Linked DNA regions of Homo sapiens: region 1 is linked to region 2. Evidence: promoter capture Hi-C in human tissues and cell types (Jung and others, 2019). All regions are on one chromosome and are shown on one strand. The core of a region is centred on a gene start or on the middle of the fragment in contact, and the rest is flanking DNA. Distances in the headings are between cores, read along the strand shown.

Region 1 (7,524 bases), core at 4,807-7,306, 570 kb after region 2:
TTTTGGGTGTGTACTCAGTAGTGAAATTGTTAGGGTACAAGTTGAATCTGTGTGTAATATTATTGGAAACTGAGCAGAGGAGTGACAAAATCTGACATTTTAAAACTTCGAGCAGAGGAGTGATACAATCTGACATTTTAAAAACTCTCTGGCTGTTGAATTGGAAATAGAATAGAAGGAGTGAGAGGAGAAAGAGAGAAGCTAATTAGAAGGCAACTGCAATATTCCAGGAGATGATGATGATATAATTCGTGGGAATGAAAAAATTCTGGACATATTTTCAAAGTAGAGAAAATAAGACTTCCAAATTAATTTAATGTGAGTTATGAGAGAAAAGAGAATTTATGAATGACCCCAAGGATATGGTTTAATCAATTGGAAGGATGTAGTTACTATCGACAGAGGTCAAAATATGATAGAGAAAGGTTCTTCCTTGGGAGGGAAAGGGGGAATGGAGGAATTGGATGGTGTAGGAACTTGGCCAACTCCTATTTTAGATATATATTAGACATTAAATTGTGATGTTGAATAGGCAATTGGAGATATAAATCTAGATTTCAGGAAAGGGGCTAGAGCTAGAACTATAGATTTGTAATTTATTAGCAAAAAGATGGTAAATGATACCAAAAGATTAAATGGAATCTTCAAGGGAGTGGTATAGGTAGAGAAGAAACCATAACCAAGGTCTGAGCACTCCAAAATTAAGAAGCTGAGAAGAAAAGAAGGAAGCATCACAGGAATCTATGAAGGAATGACCAGTGAGATAAAAAGAAAATCAAGACAAATGAAAATGTTTCAGGAAGATGAAGTGATAAACTGTGTCAAGAGCTCTGAGTAATTAAAGTAAGGTGAGCACTGGGGATTTACCACTGAGTTAAGTCACATTGGTGGGTCCCTTGTGATTTTTACTAAGACAATAGTAACACGGGAGTGGTAGGAATGTAGGATACTGATTTTCTTTGGGAAAAACGACAGCTATAGAGAATGTTTAAAAGTTTTGTTATCTTTTGAACTTTGATTTTCAGTCGTATTAACTTTCAAGTGCTGAAGGAGCTATACCCCTTCCAGTGAGGCTGCTGCTGTTCAGAGTTCTACCTAGACATTCAGGAGAAATTCTGCTGCTGTGATTGAGCAATATAAACATGGCAGTAAATGAACTACCAATTCATGTTTATTTGGCTTTTATTTTGTAAGAGGAGGAGGAATCTCATTTCTGTAGTGTAATTTCATTCTGGAAACTTCATTATGAGAAGAAAGAATTTCAGTGAACATCCATCAACCAGTAGGGAGATTTTAAAAATCAATTGCTGGTTGATTCACACCTGATAGTATCAGGTACCGTAACATTTTCATTTTACAAATGTTGAAATTGAGGCATACAGTTGCTAATTTATTTGCCTTAAGTTACATCAACTAGAAAATTTTGGCCAAAGGTGGACCTCAGTCAGCTGGCTCCAGGGTTCATGCTCTAAAGCACTGTACTCTGGTTTTCAGAAGGTCAAATTTGAATATTTGCCTAGGACACAAAAATACAAAAAAAAAAATAAATTCCAGAGTGAGATTCCTGGCAAACTAAGATGCAGATTTTCAAAGGAAATATTAGATAACTGGTTTTACTCTCCCAATATAAGCTTATATAAGGTGTATATAAAAGGATCAAAGGGTTGTATTAGATAGGTTTTATAAAGTAGGCTTCTTTTGAGAGAACCTACTGTCTAATTCTAACCCCTGAAGATATGTGTTAGGGAGTGCTACTTCTAAACCCCAAACTTAGGGAGTGGGGCTTTGGTAGAACCCACTTTAAGGGCTGATATGTATCTCTATTTCCCAGGGACCTAGTGCCTGATGCACACAGAGAACAAAGCTAACTGCAGTGGTAGCTTAGGAGGGCCATCTTAGAAGTGATCTTTCAAGCATCTCCCAGCCAGTCAAAGGTGAGGAACCCTCACAGCACTGTAAACTCAGGTTGTCTTAAAAGTGATACATCCGAAGACACTGTCCAGCCCAAGCAGGAAAAGGCCAGAGCTTAGATGTTCTGGAGAGTACCCTGGTATAGAGCTGAGAAAGGTTCTAATGCTTTCCAGAAAGCCAGACAACACAACTCATAAGTGTGAGGGATTTAGTGCCCCACAGGGCAAACATTGCTCAGCAAAAGAGGGGAGTGAGGAATGAGCCAGTAAAAAAATTCCCTTCCTTTCTTGCTCTCAGCTCATTGTTCCAAGTATCTGTGGTTTAAGGAAATCTGTTAGAAAGGTGTCCATCATGCAAAATCTTTGTTAGATTATCATGCAAAGCTTGGACCAAGTTAGCAAGACACCCACCATCGTTACTGGCTTTCCTTCCTTCCCTGAATCATTTCCCTTGTTTTCCTCATTCTTGCTGTCCTTAGATTGACTCTACCAGTAGAGCCTTAGCTAGAAGTTTTGCCTCAACCTATTTTCTATGGAAGGCAGGCTACACCAGCATTGCTTTGAGCCTTTCCGAGGATGGCGTTGTTTGTGAGCAGTAGGTACAACAGGCATGGAATATTCAGAAGCTCATTTACCTGCAGCTTTAAAGCTACATCTTCCAGGTTGATCTATCAGTAGTAAAGCTGACGTTTTGATCTCCTTTTGCCATCTTCTGTGTTTCTCTGTTAACTGGTCTCAAACTCAGTAGGAAAAGTCATATAATTGATATCTCAAGCCCCAACAGCATAGGCTGTTTCTCTCACTGCTCTTAACTTTTAAATACTACCTAAAACTCTTACTCTATGTAAAATCTACTTTATATCATACCCCAACATTTCATGGAATATTTTATACATATACATCTATAATGTATATGTATGTCATATTATATGTGTAAATGACATATATATGTCATGTCTCATCACATTATCTGTAAGCTATGTGAAGTCAGTGGTCCTAATATAGACTTACATGAATTCATTACTATGTCTGGAACAGTATATTGCATATAACAGGTGTGTGACTACTATACTAAGTCAGTGCTTTCTCATTCCTGCAAAACAAAATTATTTTAATAAAATGACCTTTAATATGTTAGCAGCCATTTAAGAATTGAGATTTTTAAAAGAAAGATGAAGACAACAGACAATAAACCATTAAAAAAAAAAAAACATCTGGAGCTGAAATCTTTAACGAGAAAATTGTAAGCAAATATTTGAAACTAAATCCTCTGAGGCATGATGTTTAATTAAAAAGGTAGAGCTTGTTAAAATAACTACAATTCAGCATGGTTCCAGTCACTAAATTTTATCTTTGCAATTACAGTTTGTTTTCATTAGATGATAGAGGAGGGTCCAGATTTAAAGGATACAGAAAAGCAGCAGAGCTTACAAACTGTGGTCCTATCATTGCTCTTTGGCATTAGATGTTCTTAGAAAAGGGAGTTTTGAGGAATGCACTGTGTACTATTAAAGGTAGCACAATTCTGTAGGATAGATGAAAGTAATCACATTTTCCATGACGTGTGTGTGTGTTGTTGTTGTTGTTGTTGTTGTTGTTTTGCCATATATAGATGAATAACATTCTTCTACTTATTCCTCCTCCAGAGTGACTTTACAAACACCAGACAGTGCAATAGATTAATAGAGGTGTCAAATTTATAGCAGGGCATTTCTTGTTTTTGGGATTCAGTCTAATTATCTTAATAAGAACAACTGCTGCTCTTATTTTCGTTTTTGTCATTTTGAGACAGAGTTTCGCTCTTATTGCCGAGGATGGAGTGCAATGGCGCAATCTTGGCTCACTTCAACCTCCGCCTCCTGGGTTCAAGCGATTCTCCTGCCTCAGCCTCCTGAGTAACTGGGATTACAGGCGCCCGCCACCATGCCTGGCTAATTTTTTTGTACTTTTAGTAGAGCCAGGGTTTCACCCTGTTGGCCAGGCTGGTCTCAAACTCCTGACCTCACGTGATCCACCCACCTTGGCCTCCCAAAGTGCTAGGATTACAGGCATGAGCCACTGAGCCTGCTGATAACTGCTGCTTTTAGAGCTATAACTATGCCAACCATTGACCTAAGCATGTATGCATACACAAACACACAAGCACACACACAAACTCACACATAATCCTCAAAACAAATATATGAGACAGGTACTATTGTTATCTACATTTTATAGATGAGGAAACTGAAGCACAAGTAAGCTAAGAGACTTGTCCAAGATTATGCAGTTGGCAAATGTAGGAGCTCAGATTCATATGGGTTGCTCTGGCTGTAGTGTCCTTGCTATTTAGCTTCAGCTTAGAATCATTCTTTAATAATTTTTAAAATATCCTTAGAAACATGTCTCTGAATATTCTCAGGCCAAAAGTGCCATTACATTCGCTGTTAAATTTAAAATATTCTAAACTTAAAAATACTTAAAAACATTTAAGCCTTTCATACGGCATCTTCAGATTCCACCCTTATGACTTAACCCACTCCTAAAACCACCAACATGTATGTATCCTTTAACGCAGCAAATGCACTTGTAGGAAAAGATCCTGAAGAGAAAAAAATGATCTGTATCTTTCCATGATGTTAGTCAAAGCATTGTTTATAATAGAATAACCATTCCTCCCAGCAATCCCATTACTGGGTATATACCCAAAGGAATATAAATCATTCTATGGTACTTTGTAATGGCAGCCTGAACTAAGACAATAAAACTATAGCATTTTTTCTCTTTCACTGTATATGAAAGTGTCATGATGTGTGTGCATGTACAACACACACAAATACAGAACAGAAAATCCTAAAAGTAAATCCACTAAAATGTTTCAAATTGTTTATCCTCTGATGGATGCCTATAGGTTATTTTAATTTTCTTCTCAGAATTATTCAACATTTCCTAAACTTTTCATAAGGTAAATATATTATCTTTGAAATCAGAAAAACAGGGACTAAAAAGTGAAACTATTTATATTCATACTTATATACACATATATATGCAGTTTCTAACGAAATATTAACTTGGCAATAGTATAAGCAAGTCTTTATGTCCCCAAAGTAATTCATCACAGTAAATGATTCTGAAAGTACATGTCAGAAAACCTATTAGTATTTCCTGCTCTGCTATTTGTTCATGTCTCCTCATTTAATGATAACTAAGGGAATTCTCAAACATAGCCAGCTCATATTCCTATTACATAGGAGTGTTTTACCTGTGGTATAATAAATTCTCACAAAACTATATCTGACAAAAAATAATACAAAATGTCAAAAGGAGCTCATTTTTATGCTATTACTGTCATTTCTGTGACAGAAAGTTGATTTACTTGTACTCTTCACCTAATAGTGGATGATAATCTGTTTTTAATTTTTTTCCAAACCCAACTATTATTTCTCTCCCATTCTATTAGTCACCCACTTCAAATGTTTCAACTGTATCCCTAAATATATTTACCTTTTCAAAATATGTGCTATATTTTCCATGGTTGTGTTTTTTTTTAATTTATAGAAAGGTATATCATGTTTTGTTTCTTTTCGTTAATATTTCTGAGACATATCCATATTTTGTGATTGACGCATCGTATCCCATTGTGCCTGACTCTGCCATATTTTACTTACTCCCTTATTGATGGATTCCTAGGTTGCCTTCTACTTTCTATCCCCTGGGGAAACACCTGGAAGAGCAGAACCTAGTTAAAGTCCTGAGCCAGAGTTTCTCTGGGATGTTAACTCAGGAGTGGGATTGCAGTGTCATACACACCCGGTTATATCACCAAATACTGCCAAACTTCATTCTAGAATGACTGTGCCAGTTTACATTGTAAACAAGAGTTACTAATTTAATTTTTAAAGTTGCAACTATTTTCTCATTTATGTGAGGCAGAAGAATTTATTTTTTCAAAACAAATTTGTTTGAAAACCTCTTTAATGTGTCTTTTGGGCTTATCTAATGGACACACATAACTAGTCTGTAAAGGAAAGCTGGAGACAGAGAAGAGTTAAGTTGGTCAGCCTGCTAATGGTAAAGGCCTTTCTGTTTAGCATGGAAAACCTTTGTGGATGTTGATGTTTTTAGAAAAAAAAAATATATATTTTTAATATGGACAAAGACTATGCTATTTCAGAGAACTATTATTTGCTCTTGGAATGTGTGTGAATTACTAACCTTGGAGAAAAGAAATAGAGGCAAGAGAACTAGAGGCAGAATGAGGAAGCCTATGTTTTTCTTCTTTTATCACAAATCTAAAGCTGGCTAGACTTGAAATGCTAAAGCTCACTAGAGAAATTCTGCTGAACCTCTAACTTGATTAGTGTGATTCCACACCGAATTGCATTGAATATGGAAATAAGCCTCTATAATTCTTGTATAACTATTGTGCCCAAGTGTTGTTGTTCTGTGGATGGCAGAAGCAGATCACTGGAAGCTTCTGTTTTGAACACAACAGGGAGGTGTGGCCTTTTTGTAGGGACCAATTTGAAACAACAAGGTTGCAGGTAACAGAAATTCAAGTGAGCTTAAATCACAAGTGTATATTAGCACATGTATCAGAAAAGTCAAGGGATGGGCTATGCACAGCTGAATTAAGAACTCGGACACTGTTTCTATTTATCCATATTGTCCCATCTCAATATTGGGCTACCTGTGAGAAATGTAGCAAACAGCAGTGACAGCTTTAGTTTTTACATTATCTTACATTCCACGTCCAATAGGAAAGAATGAGATTTTCTCTTTGAAAAATTTCAGCAAGAGTCCTCATTTCATCTAATTGGATCTAGTTCAGCCACATGTTCATTCTTGAACCAACGATGTAACTAGGAGCCAGTCAGAGTCTCTGCCAGTTTCTGAAGGAAAGAGTCAAATTCGTCAGTAATACCTGGGCTGAGAATAGAGAAGGGGTAATAATCTGAAATCAAAATCCAATCTGAGTGTTCTGTGCACAAATGCCAAGGAAGAAACACAGTAAGGGCTTAACACAACTTTATTCTCTCAGTAAAAGCTTACCAGTTCTCTGGCTGGGCGCAGTGGCTGATGCCTGTATTCCCAGCACTTTGGAAGGCCGAGGCGGATGGATCACCTGAGGTCAGGAGTTTGAGACCATACTGGCCAACATGGAGAAACCCCATCTCTACTAAAAATGCAAAAATTAGCCGATCGTGGCCGGAAGTGTGGAGGGGCGCTGGTAATCCCAGCTACTCCGGAGGCTGAGGCTGGAGAATCACTTGAACCCAGGAGGCGGAAGTTGCAGTGAGCTGAAATCACGCCACTGCACTCCAGCCTGGGGGATAGAGCGAGACTCCGTCTCAAAACAAAACAAAACAAAACAAAACAAAACCTTGCCAGTTCTCATGCTCCTTCATCATATTTGAAGAAACAAAACAGATATTCCAGGGAGTACCATACAGGTACTTAAAGACAAAGGTATTTATCTTATAACCTGGACACATATTTAGAAATATTATTTTCAGACTGTGTGTCCATGAAAGATTTTTCTGCCTAAGAATGTTCATGCCTTAATACTCTGGCCTTTCTTCCTTTTCATCTTCAACATTATTTTACAACTAGAGGATCCTCCATACACAAAAAT
Region 2 (6,742 bases), core at 3,267-5,766:
AAAGTTCCAAGAAGACAGATTCAAACCCTATATGTTGACATAAGACATTTCCCAATATCTTTCCCCTTTTCTTTCTGGTTTCCCTATGCCTCTTACCGTGCTGGAGTATCAGAAGCAGTTCAATCCTGCCATTTAATGTCTTTGACTGTTGTCTTTAACACCATCAACACACTGATTCCTTTCCATGAATAAAAAGTACCTGATAAGAATACTTTGATAGATGAATGTATCTATATTATCACAAGAAACTATCTTCAGTGAGTCTGGCTTCGCAGATGGAAACTACACTGGGGGGTCAAGAAAACATGTTCTGGGACTGTCCCAAGTCGCCACAGTTGCATCCCTACTGCCTCAGGCAACTTGAAGGAAAAGATCAAACATCTTTCACTCTTGAGACAATTGTTGTCTTCATCTCAGAAACAAGACAAAGTCAGGCTGTGAGTGGTGGGGATCCAAGCCCAAGTCTGTTCAACTACAAAATCTCTAACCTTCACAGTCATCTCAACCTTCTGGTTCTCTTCACCTTCTCATCCTCCTGCCTCTTTACTTTATAAGGACTTTTATCTTCAGCATGAGATACCTAGCAAATCCTTCAACTAAATGATAAATTATGAAGGCTGAACATGTTCTCTCATTCAAGGTATTTAGAACTTGCAAAGGAGAAAGGGGACAGAAGCCTGCCCAAGTATGCAAGGATAACACTGACAGAGTATCAGCTCCCTGAAGCTCTGGAGTGGCAATTTCATGCCATCTCATTATAGCCTCACAGTAACAGTCTACAGTTTGTATTCTAAGTTTTGCCATGGCTCCCTTTGACAATCTGAAGCAACCTACATAACTCTTCTTAAAATGATGCTTTTCAATGCATAAAATATAATACGTAGAATTGGAAAGGAAACTACGAAGTTTAAAATACTGTTATCAAAATATTTAAAAACAAAATTCATGATATACAAAGGTATGGGCATTTAAACTCATTAAACACAGTATAGGAGAGTTATATATATTTACTTAAAAATTGTGATATTGTGGGAAAGGGTTAACAATTTTTATACTGCTTTACATGTACACTGAAATTGAACAATTATAACAGTGAATGATGGGAGCCATGATTCTCACTATTGGAATAGGAATTTACAGACAAGCAAAGGGAGGAGGCTAGAATGATCTATGTGTTAAAGGATTAAAGTTGGAAACATAAGTATGTGCTCATATTTAGCTTAATACAGACACAGAATGGTCACATATAGAAATACTTATGTATATATGCATGGGTAAGTATACACATATATTTCTTCACTGTCTTAGTTGAAAGGCCTAAACAAAATGACCTGCCAATAATGACTGTGTCTGGGACCCAGATCTTGATTTGTATTACCATTCTCCCATAAAAGGAACAAGGGCTCCATGAAGAAATGGCTGATTCTTGGAATGAAGAAGGAAGTATACAAGTTGAGACTGGAGGAACTTATAATACCATAAAGTAAGGGATTGTTAACAGCCCTGCTGCTCCTGCCATACACACACACACGCACACTCACACATCAAAGGGGGTATGTCAAAGGAGCACAGGAACCTACTGAAAGAGCTTCCAATGGGCAAAACTGGAACAAATTGAACAACAAAATAAAGTAGTAATTGATTATTACCAAAGGCATAAAATATAATACATCTCCATAAGTCTATAATATTGATATCAATAAGTAATTGAATACTTGGTAGAGAATAGACAGCTCTCCTGTACAGAATTCCATATACTTTATGTACACACTCTGCCCTCAGGGAGGTAGAGCCAAAGTCCCACTCCTTAGGTTTGGGTTTCATGTAGTTACTTCCTACAAGTACAGTATGGAAGGGATGGGCAATAACGTTACAGTAGAGAAACCTGACAAACACTGCCTCAGCCAGACAATCAAGGTCAACACATCACCAGTCATAAATCACATCGGTACTATAGCACCTTGATATGATGTGAGGAAAAGGGACTTTACCTCTTTCTTTCTCCTGCCAATAGTTCGCAACTCCAGTCTTATCATAAGAAAAGCATCAGACAAATTGCAACAGTGAGGCCTTCCAGCAAATACTTGACCACTACTCCTCAAAACTGTCAAGGTCATCAAAAACAAGAAAAACTATCACAGCTAAGAGGAGCTTAAGGGGACATGACAACTAAATTTAGTGTGGTATCCTGGATGGATGCCTGGAACAGATTTAAGGATATTAGGTAAAAACCAGGGAAACTTAAATGTAGTTAGACTTTATTTATAGTTAGTAATAATGTATCAGTATACATTCATTGATTGTAACCCAATGATATGGTTCAGATTTGTGTCCCTACCCAAATCTCATGTCAAATTGTAATCCCCAATTTTGGAGGAGGGGCCTAGTGGGAGGTGACTTGATCATGGGGGAGGACTTCCCCCTTGGCTTTCTGGTGGTAGTGAGTTCTCATGACATCTGGTTGTTTAAAAGTGTGTAGCACCTCCCCCTTCTCTTTCTCCTGCTCCAGCCATGTAGGCCCTGCCTGCTTCCCCTTTGCCTTCCACCATGATTATAGGTTTCCTGAGACCTCCCCAATCATGCTTCCTGTACAGCCTACAGAACCACCAGCCCTTCTTTATAAATTACCCAATCTCAGGTAGTTCTTTATAGCAATGCCAGAATTACACCAAGGTACCTTACTATTGTATGATGTCAATAGGAGACACTGGGAATGGGATATATGGGAACACCCTGTATTATTTCTTCAATTTTTCTGGACACCAAAGCTGAAAAATATAGTCTATTAAATAAAAAAAGTAGTGATGATTTGATTATAACATCAGTGTAGTGATAGAGATATCTATAAAAACAGCAATAAGGAATTAGCTGTTGTTTCTATTGGAAACAAAGTCCCAGGTACTCCTAACATTCTTGTGGTTTGTTGCCTACATTATGTTTAAAGGACATGCTAAATGCTAAATTTCAGTTAGAAGTTAGTGAAACTAAAAATGAGATTTTTCCCATTATACTTAATCTGTATAAAAGGAGTATATGAATAGAATTCCATTTATACAGATTAAGAATCTCCTGCTCTATGGTAATATTAACGGGCTAATGTTATGAAAGTGAGTCTCAGAGCGATGAATTAAGCTGTTCTAGCTTTCAAAGAGCATATATTCTATGACCAAGAATTCTAACTAAGTTTTGTTGGAAAGCTGTTGGCTACATTATCACCTAACTTTGGGACTGATAGATGGATGGAAACATCTCATTTAGCAAAGGTGCTTCCCTGGCCTTGTGCAATTGCACTGTTTAGGTTGCTGGACAAATCCATAGTGTAAAGCTGGCCTGTATCAAGTGACGGTCAATTCAAACAGCAAGGCAAGTTAAAAGAGGGAACTCCATTCCACAGAACCCTAGTGTCAAGGAACCTCCCGACTGGAAAATGACTCAACAGCTAGGCGGAAACCCTGGCTCAGCTACAAAGAGAGCAAATTTAGTCCCATTTTTCCTTAAACATTCAACCCTCAAACCTGAAGAGATTTGGGAAAGAAGCAAAACGGGAGGGTGGGGGAGAGAGAACAGTCTTGTTAACAGCTAGTGTTAATTTAAAAAGAGAAGGAAAGGGCTTATATGAATACATGCTTATTTCATTCCCAAAGCAAATTTTCATAAATCCTTAGGGAAAGAGAGATAGTCATTTGCTAATGTAGACTCTGCTTTTTGATTCCCAAATGTTACAGCTGTCACCACAACAGTTTGCCCAATTATGTGGCAGGGAGGGGAGGGGGTCCAGAGCAAAGGAAGTAGGAGGAAGAGATGTTAGAGGGAACATCTGTGCACAAGTGCACCATAAACACAACAAAATCATGGGGCCACCCCACTGTTTCTTTGAGCGCTTTCTCTGGTTGGCCCCACTTCTCCAGTCTTTTAGGAGATTCCCGTTCTATTACGTAGGTGAGAGGGCGAAAGGTTCTAGCTTTCAAAATTGTGAGTGGTTTGGCTGTGTGCATACGTGTGTGTGCGCGCGTGTGTGCGTGTGTGTGTGTGTTTGCGTGTGTGTCTGTTGGCGGGGGCGGGGGTGATGGAGAGAGCTATGAAGGGCTTAGAAAGCTTCATTACCAATTTAAAATGTTTTTGTAGTGCTTGAATGTTTATCTTAAAAGACAATTCCTGCTCTCAAATTCAGCCAAATGAACAATGCTGATAAGGAAGATGAAGAGGGTGGGAAACCCACAGGGGCAAATGGAACAGTCCATGCAGCCGGGGTGACGGGGGAGCGCTCGGAGGAAGGACGCTATGCAGAGAAAGCCCCCCTGGCTCTTCTCTCTCAATCCATAATCCAGCGATGCTGCAGCTGTAAAAGCATTAATAGAAAATCAATCCACAACCTCGCGGGGCAGCGATCGTCGAGCGCCGTTTCCAGGCTGCCTTCCCTGGGGTCGGGAGCGGCCCCGCTCCCCCCGTGGCTGGCGCGGAATGTGGTGATCCGTCCCGGGGCGGGGATGACTTCATGCAGCCGGAGCTCCGCGGCGGGAGCGGAGGCTGCTGCTGGCAGGTGGGGCGCGGGCCGGCGCGAGCTGACCGAGCACTCGGCGGGCGCGGCGGGACTGCGGCCCGTGGCGGCGTGCGCGGGGACCTGCGCTGACTAGGTCCGGGGAAGGTAAGCAGCCCGGCACCGGTGCGCCCTGGCCGCACTGCGTGGAGCTTTCCGCTTGGTTAATAATGGGGTTTGCAGCACGGAGGGAAGAAGGGGAGAACCCCGCTGCATTCTGCAATGAGAAAAGGAGCAACAACTAGGATGGAAATGTTGGGCGGCCAAGTGCAGAGGTTGGAGGAGCAGTGTTACTGGGCAAACAAAGAAGGCGTTCTTGCCTCTATACTCTTTTGAACGTGATCTACCATTTCAGTGCCAGATTCGCGTAGACAGTGAAGAGGACTCAAAATTTAAAATAATTTGAGTTACTCTTTTGCTTTCTGTGCCTTTTACCTTCGCTTGAGTATTTTGAGGATTTGGAGCAGTAGGTCCCTGGCAGCAGCCTGAGGTAATCAGAAATCGTCCCTCTTCCTGTAGTCCTTGGTCCTCTCCCTTTCCAGTTATCAGAATGGGTCTGTGCCCCTCTCAATGGCAAAACACCTGCTTCAAGACTGAACCTTTAGAAAGAGCCTCTATCTGGAGGGGAAACTTCTCTTATCTCCTGGAGTTCAGCTTGGGTTGAGCAGCACTTGACATCGCTTCTTCCTTCAATTGCCATTTTCTCTGTCAATCATTTCATTGATCTTTTTCGGAGATGCTGTGCCCATTCACAGACCAACTCTCGTCAGCTCTTATCCACCACCTGGGTTCCATGACTGATTTTGTCAAGGTCCCAAAAAGGGCATTGCCTCACACAGATTTCTTATTCGGTATTCTCCCTGTATACTGTTACCTGTGTCCTTCCCCCAAATGCATGGAATGAAATATCCTGCTTGTGGCCCTGTACCAACATGTTATCCCATTAACTCCCTTCGCTGTAGTCACTGTGGCTACTTGAAAGCTAGAGAGGACAGATAGAATCTACTGGAGTGTGAGGGATGTTCCCTATGCATAGGCATAGGTAGAAGTAAAAATGTGAATGCCAGTCCATCCAGTTTTTCTTGAAGCAATTTTAGTCCAGTTGGATTTTGAGACAGCTAGCTGTTAAGATTTGGGACAAATCCTTTCCAAAAGGCAGAGGAGTCCGTTTGCCTCTAGGATTCCTCAAGAACCTCAAAAGAGTTTCCAGTGAGGTTTTCCTCGTAGGCAGTCAGAAAGCCAATGGAGCTGCCCAATCTAAGCCTCTGGTTGAGTATCCTCTAGTTTGTCTTGCCATTTGCAGGTTCCTATCCCTCGTCCTAGGATTTTCCCCACAGACCCCTTGCTACTGAGCCCAAGTGCCTATCCTTGTTGCCACCTAGAGATGTACATTTGAATAATATGCTGTGAAATGGTTAAGATGGCTGTTATGGGGATTGCAAACGTGCCACTTCACCAACAGAGAACAGTTGCAATAAGCCAGATTGTGGGGTATCTGTGTGCCAATGTTCTATTTAAAGGAAGATCTGTTATCTTTAAACTTAAAATTACAGAGACTGTCTGACTCAACAGCCATGCAATTTTATTTTAGTAAATTAAATTAGAAGATCAATGAAAAAGAGGGGCAGAGTTGGTAGCTTAAAATTTTACCTCTTTCTTTCCTCTTCAAATATTATTTTTAAGCAAAGACACTAGTATGGAAAATCGTGTTAATCATATTATATATCATTATTGCCTTTCTATTACAAATTTCGTTTTTACAAAATGCACTTTAGAAAGATTTGAATTTGTTTCTTTGTCTCCATCTTCAGTATATGAGGCATAGGGTGAGGGTGTAGGGGGTGGGCAAAGCCCACTACTGAGTGATCCACTCCAGGAACTGCCCCTTGGGGTCTTAATAACCTTATGTTCCTTTTTTGTTGTTGTTATTATGTGTTAAACAGGGTTTTGGTTTGAAATATTAACTTCTTGAGATTCTAGAATTTTTACTCAGTCACATTAACTATGAGGTAACAAAGAACAAGATCAACAACAAACCCTGTATTCTACCACCTTTTTTCTACTATTAAAATACTTAACCATATACATCATTATTCTGAATAATACTAATATAGAATAATAATGAATTTTAATATAGTTATTCTAAATAACCTAAGGTATATGAAATACAGATTAGTACAATTGATCTTAGAAATACAATGCAGT

The links. Contacts are between HindIII fragments. The study calls those that stand out against the background at their distance.
Region 1: a contact is called between a fragment that was not itself captured here and the fragment with the promoter of PKIA in region 2, in 1 of the 25 tissues and cell types used here (lymphoblastoid cells).

What each region holds. Positions count from the first base shown.
Region 1 is chr8:79,079,869-79,087,392 of GRCh38, forward strand. No RefSeq gene overlaps it. Among named protein-coding and RNA genes, the nearest start is that of LINC02605, 250 kb to the left of the region's middle. The HindIII fragment of the contact is 3,456 bases long and covers 4,329-7,524 here.
Region 2 is chr8:78,511,824-78,518,565 of GRCh38, forward strand. It overlaps PKIA (cAMP-dependent protein kinase inhibitor alpha), which reads left to right and starts at 4,517. Exons shown (of 4, transcript NM_006823.4): 1 at 4,517-4,645. The region is part of intron 2 of LOC105375911 (a long non-coding RNA gene); the gene reads right to left. RefSeq lists a silencer at 4,462-4,761 and an enhancer at 5,082-5,191. The HindIII fragment of the contact is 16,159 bases long and covers 1,309-6,742 here.